Regions from separate parts of the Homo sapiens genome. Here region 1 is linked to region 2. Evidence: promoter capture Hi-C in human tissues and cell types (Jung and others, 2019). All regions are on one chromosome and are shown on one strand. Each heading gives the region's core, a stretch centred on a gene start or on the middle of the fragment in contact. The rest is flanking DNA. Distances are from core to core; before and after follow the strand shown. Region 1 has its middle 130 kb from the start of LINC02691. Region 2 holds the start of C14orf180 (chromosome 14 open reading frame 180).

Region 1 (3,337 bases), core at 734-3,233, 220 kb before region 2:
CCAGCTCTTCAGGAGGGAATCACCAGCTCACTGCTGGGCGAAAGTTCTGGCAGCAGCTGCCTGGGCTGGGCTGGGCTGGCTGAAGCCTCAGCCACTGCTCCTGGTGGGAAGCTCACATGGAAAGCATTCCAGACCCAGAGTCCCAGCAGGGCCAAAAGGTGGGCTGTGAGCACAGGCTGGGGCCCAGCAGCTCCAGGGTAAACAGAAGGTGGCCAGCTGCCCCTTGGTGCTGGGTGGGCTCCTGGATATTCCAGGGCACGAAACATAAGCCTGGCCTGATTCTCCCTTGGATGCGTCTTCTGCAGGCCTGGCTCCCTAAGGACATAGCAGGGAAGGTTCTGGCCACGGTGGGACCCCAGGAAGCCAGCAGGCAGCCCCGTGCAGCTTAGGCTGGGCCTGGAGAGCACCGAGGAGGCCATCCCAGGCACAGCTGGCGCTCACATGCTGCGGGGGGGTTGGATGGTGCCCCTCAAGGATATGGCCATAGCGTAATGCCTGGAGCCAGTGGTGTGGTCTCACCTGGAACTAGGGTCTTTGAGTGAAGGATCTCGAGGTGAGGTCGTCCTGGATCGTCTGGGTGGGCCTTAAATCCCACGGCTGGCGTGTGTCCTTACACAAGGAAAGCCGAGGGAGATTGGACACAGAGAAGGAGGCCCTGTGAAGATGGAAGCAGAGACTGGAAGGATGTGGCCACAAGCCAAGGGTGCCCAGGGCCACTGGAAGCTGGGAGAGGCAGGAAGCAGCCTCTCCTGGAGCCTCCAGAGGGAGCAGAGGGTGAGTCTCCTCCAGGGCGGCTGGAGGCTCTGTGGGGTTTGCACTCGTGGTGGACGGCCACCCCTGCTGGCAGCCTGATTTCAGACCTCTGACCTCCAGGCCCTGAAAAAATGCACTTCTAGTGTAAGCTCCCGGCCTGCAGACGTTTGATGCAGCGGTCACAGGGGAGCAAGGCAGATGCTGGTCTGGGCGCCTCAATCACCATCTCTGGTCCCGTCTGTCTTGCTCCCGAGACCCCAGGGCCTGGTCCTTGGTAGCACAGGGAAAACACCAGAGAAGGGAATGCAGGAATGAACGACACGGCAGACCCAAGCACTGGCTGGAGGGCGGTCACCGTCAAAGACAGGGCCCAAGAGTGAGAGTGTGGCCACAGGAGCCGAGAGCTAGGAGGGCCAAGTGTGAATTGCAAGGGCCGGGGCTGTCCTATAGCAGGGCTCAGGGCCCCAGCGGATGCAGCCTGACACTCGTGGTCCAGCTTCCTGAGCACGTTCTTCGAGCCACATATTTTGAGGACCTACTGCGTGCTGGCCAGTGCTCGGAGGCTTACGTGGATCATGTCTACCTCGGTAGCCCTGTGGGCAGCATCAGAACCCTGGCTTTGTGGGCGAGTGAAAGTCCAGGCCCACGTGTGGCCGGGAAGTGGCAGGCTTGGGCTTGGACCCCGGACCCCAGACCCACGTCTCTGCCCCTGGAGAGGCCTCCTGCAGTGCCGCAGCTCTGGAGTTGGATGGAAACTAGAGCAGGGACAGTGTTGCCGCAGCAGAGCGCTGCAGTCCCAGGAGGTGAGAGCCCTGGTAAGCGTGGGCGGTGCAGGAACCCGTCCTGGAAGTGTCCCTACATACCCGTGTGCCAGTCACTAAACGCCACACAGGCCGCAGGACTCCTTCGGCCCAGGGCCACTGTCCTGCAGTGGTGAGAAGCCTGTCTCCACTTGGTAGGACCGTAATTAACCAGTCTGGAAGCTTCCGTCAAGCTCTGTATAGAATCAGCCCCAGGCAAGGCACCGCACAGTGGCCATGGGCCTAGCGCACTCCATGGGCGGAGAATACACTGACGATGGCTGAGCCGACAATGGACTGGGCACAGACTCAGCGTGCCAGGGCCTCCCTGAAGTCCAGACAGAACAACTGGGACGCTGGCTTTGGGGATCTGATGATCATAGATCTTTAGCCGCAAATGTGGGAGGATACTGGAGTAACTCACAGCTGTCAGTGTGGAAGGAGACAACCCAGAGTGCAGAGGAAATCAGCATCTGTACAGAGAGTGGCGGGCACACGGGGCTTCGTGCTCCCCACCTGCTTACCAGGCACTGGGAGCCATGGGTGGCTCTTGAGCACGAGAGTGGCAGGACAAGCCTCTCGTCTGGGAGCCGAGGCAGGCGCTTGCAGGCACGGGCCAGGTCTTTCAGGAGCATGAGGAGGTGGGGGCACAGGGCAGTGGGGGGCCAGGGCCTCTCTGTGGGCTTTGGCATTCCCATCTGTGCCATGGGATGAGCACCCTGCTCTGGGATGCCAGGCCGGGCAGGGGCTCACTTGGCACTGGGTGGACTCTTGAGAGGAATGAGCCTGGTGTTGGGCTCTGGCCCTGGCCCCTGACATTTGCTTCTTGCCTTGGAATTGGGGGCAGTGGCCTGGCCCACTGGAATCGTGGTGACAGGGTGGTGGCTCTCCCTTCACCAGAAGTGTGACCTCCATGGAAAGTCCAGGAAGCAGGGATGAAGGAGTGCCTCATTCTCCATGCTGGACTCAGGCGGACCTGCGGCTCCAAGGGCTCCATGCTGGACTCAGGATGACCTGCTGTTCTGAGGGCTCAGCGGCTTCCTCCAGGGCCATCACTGGGATGAGAGGACCTGGTGTCAGGTGGGGATGTGCCAGCTCCTGTGCCCCCAGCTCCCCTCCTCCTGGGGCCGAGGTAGCTGAGTGGATGGGGAACATGCCCTCCCTTGCCGGGCCAGCCAGCTCCCTGCCCTCGTCTAAGCAGCCTCTCAGTGGGCAGTGGCCTTGGGCCATCCCTGCTTCCAGAGGGTCCCCCATGGGGCCCTCGGCCCCTGGCAGAGCTGGGGAGGGCAGCTGCAGTGGGGTCGCGTGCCTGGGGGGCCGCGGGAGGTATCTTGTCCGGGGCTGTGTTTTGGATTCATTTATTTCCGCTCTGCCTGGAAACCCACTCTGTCCCCTGTCCTCCGGGTGTACAGTGCCTCCTCAGAGATTTTGGGGGCTCTGCAGGGGCGAGGACAGCTGTGTGTTTGCCGGCCACATGGGGCAGCCTGTGGGATGAACGGCCAATGAGTGAGGTCCGGCAAGCAGGTCTGGGCCCCAGCTCAGCTGGTGGCCATGACACAGGCTCCTAGAAGGCAGAACCATGTGTGTCCATCTGGGCCAGAGGTTGGGAGTCTGCAGCATCAGGTTGGGTTCAAGGCCTGGGAAGCCTGTCCTGACAGCTCCCCCTGCCTCCGGCCCCCAGCCCTGACCTTAAGCCCTCACACCACCATGCAGAGGCCCAGATGGTGCAAGCCACTCTCCTGGCTCCCCGGCTCCAGCACCTGCTGTGGCTCCCAGATAGACAG
Region 2 (2,918 bases), core at 86-2,585:
ACAGGACCTCACTCTTCCCAGGAAGCCAGACTGCCAGCAGGACCACCCAGCCTTCCTCAGTGCTCTCCCTGGAACAAGCGTCAGCGAGCCAAGGCCCTCCTGCCAATCTGGCCCACCCCGTTTGTGTAGACACAGAGCGCACTGTGTGCCATATGGCCCTGTAAGAGAAAAGTTTGCTCCCCCATGCCCTGTACTGAAGACGGCAGTGAGGGGAGGGCCGGTCTGCTGAACCCCATCCCAGTGGCTGCGTTGCTCATGCTCTGACGGTGGGTTCCAGGACTCTGTGTCCATGCAGCCCCACGGCTGGCCCTGAGCAGTCACCCTCTGTGCACACTGTCCCCCAGCCTGGCACACCCTGGGCTCCCAGGGGTCCTGTAGCTTTACCCAAGGGAGATGCACCCCCATTCCTAATGGAGAAACACGGGTCTCTCCACACCTCCTCCAGCAGTCCCCTGAAACAGGTCAAAGCCCCACAAACCAGGCAGGGGTCTGCCCACATGTGGTGGTGCCCTGCGCCAGTGATGCCCTCACCAGCCTCTTTCAGACCTGCCTTTACATGCACCAGCAGACGGGGGGGCTGGCGAGGACGGGCCACCAAGCCTGAGCCAGGCTACCACCTCCGGGCTGTGTGACTCTGGACAGGGTGCCTCAACTCTCTGAGCTGCACTTTCACCTACAAATGAGGGGCAGACTCAGCAGCGCCAGGCAGGGCAGTTGGACGCCCACCCAGGACAGACCCTGAGAAAGGCTGATCCCTCACCCCTGCCATCGCTCACTGACCCATACATTGCCCCTTCCTGCCAGGGCAATATCGAGGGTCGGCCAGTGTGCCCCAAAACGGCAGCTTGGGACCCATTCTTTGCCTCTCCCTCTGGCAACCCCAGGTCAGGACTCACAGGGGCACAGGGGCCTGGGGCAGGGCGGGCACTCTCGCCACCACGGAGGCCCCATGCTGGGTCAGGGTCTTATTGGAGGCTGGACTCTGTGATCACCTCACCTCCCGCAGCCCCACAGTGCCCTCCCTCTCCCACTCTGCCCCGAATTCCAATCCATAGGTTTTTCCAAGAGCTGCACAGCTCTGGAATTGACCTGGGAGGGGGCACATTTGGGCCGGGAGGGGTAGGAACAGCAGCAAACTCTGGTCTTATCTGAAATCATGGTCTGTTGTCCACCGGGGGCCTGGGAAACAGCCACCCCCTTCTGCTCCGGGGCCAGCGGCCTGTCCTCGGGTTCACTGCTATTTCTGCCAAAGGGGAGAGGTAATTATAGCCTGGCCGCTGCCAGCTGGCCCAGCTTTGCGATCCAGCAGAGAGGGCTGGAGACGGGACGAAGGCCACAACAGACCCGGCCCTGCCAGCGGGCGGTGGCGCCTCCAGATCAGAGCCCTCGGGAAGGAGGCCTGGGCGGGCCTGGCCCGTTCACCTGTGTGCCCTGCAGTTCTGCCCGAGGCTCAACTCTCAAGGGCCTGGGAGGGGTGCTGCCGGCCAAGAGGGTCCAGGACCTCACTGGACTGTGCCCCACAGGGAGATCCCGAAGAGCCTGTTTCTGTCCCTCGGGGAGCCAGGAGGGAACCAGGTGAGTTCCAGCCCCAGGGAGAGGGGGCTCACTTCCTGCTTGGGTATGAAGATGCCAGAGCGGAGAGATTGCCAAAGGCAGGTGCAGGTGGGGAACCTGCCCCAGCTGGGCAGCAGGTGTGGGCAGAGACTGGGCAGAGCGGAGAGATTGCCAAAGGCAGGTGCAGGTGGGGAACCTGCCCCAGCTGGGCAGCAGGTGTGGGCAGAGACTGGGCAGAGCACACACTGATGATCCTGAGTGACCTGAACAAGCTCCAGAGTGGCCACCCTTCCCCCTTCTCCTGGGACTGATGGTTTCCCTAAAACGGAGACAGTCCCAGGCCGGCCCTGTGTCCACACTGAGGCCAGGCCGCCTCTGGGGGAAGCAGGGAACACGGCCACTTCAAACTTAGCAGCGGGGGTGCTCCTGGCCACACAGGAGCTTCCAAAGGGCACCTGATGTTGCGCGAAACAGCCTGGGCAGTGGGAGAAGGGGCTGCACTCTCAGGGGAATGCAGGCAGCCGTGCCAGGCATGAACCCAGCCAGCCTTCCCTGAAGGGCCTTGGTGGGGGGCATCCTCCGAGGGCAAGTCTACGCAGGCCCAGCCTAGCAGGAATGGATTCGTTACTCCAGTAACTGAAGCCTAGTTCTCAGTGTTTGGGAATCCCTGAGAACTGGCTCTTTTCTGAGCCGTCAGTCAGAAGGAATCCCTGTCCTGCCCTGTGTGGCCATGGGACCCCCACCCAGCACTGGACGCCACGCCATTTCTTGGGCACTACTGAGCTTTGCAGTGCCCTGGACAGTTGGCAAACAGCCCCCATTCCACATATGGGAGGAAGGGCCTGGGGGGGTCCCCCGCCCTGTCTGTCTGGAGCTCTCGAGGCCTAGGGTGGCCCCTGCACCCAGCAGATGAGCAGCCATCACCCGGTACTGCTGCTACCTCGAGCCCTAACTGCACCTCGGGATGTGAGGGCCCATCTAGGCATGGAGAGGGGCCTCAGGGGGCCACCAGGCAGCTCCTGCTCCTGTTCCTACCTGGTAGGGCCTGCAGGCACCTGAGCAAGCCCAGTGGGCGGTCAGCCCAGCCAGGGGCCTCCCCACAAGTTCTCCCTCTTACTTAAGTCGAGAACGCATGTTGTCTGGGGAGCTGCCAGCGTGGTTCCAGTGGTGAGCGTTGGGCTGGGAGCCAAGGCTTTTCCCAGGAGCCCAGCCACCCCGCCTGGCTGTGTTCTGCCTCCGCCCTGCAGAGGAAAGGCCAGCGAGGCAGTGTCCATGGTCCCAGTCTTCTTCCACCGGAAGAAGGCACAACCTGCATCTGCAGCCCCAGGGCCATTGGGTTAGGCCTGTGGCCAAACTACTAAGGT

Evidence for each region. Contacts are between HindIII fragments. The study calls those that stand out against the background at their distance.
Region 1: a fragment that was not itself captured here is called in contact with the fragment with the promoter of C14orf180 in region 2 in 1 of the 25 tissues and cell types used here (lymphoblastoid cells).

What each region holds. Positions count from the first base shown.
Region 1 is chr14:104,356,423-104,359,759 of GRCh38, forward strand. No RefSeq gene overlaps it. Among named protein-coding and RNA genes, the nearest start is that of LINC02691, 130 kb to the left of the region's middle. The HindIII fragment of the contact is 6,801 bases long and covers 1-3,337 here.
Region 2 is chr14:104,578,429-104,581,346 of GRCh38, forward strand. It overlaps C14orf180 (chromosome 14 open reading frame 180), which reads left to right and starts at 1,336. Exons shown (of 5, transcript NM_001008404.3): 1 at 1,336-1,575. The HindIII fragment of the contact is 18,385 bases long and covers 1-2,918 here.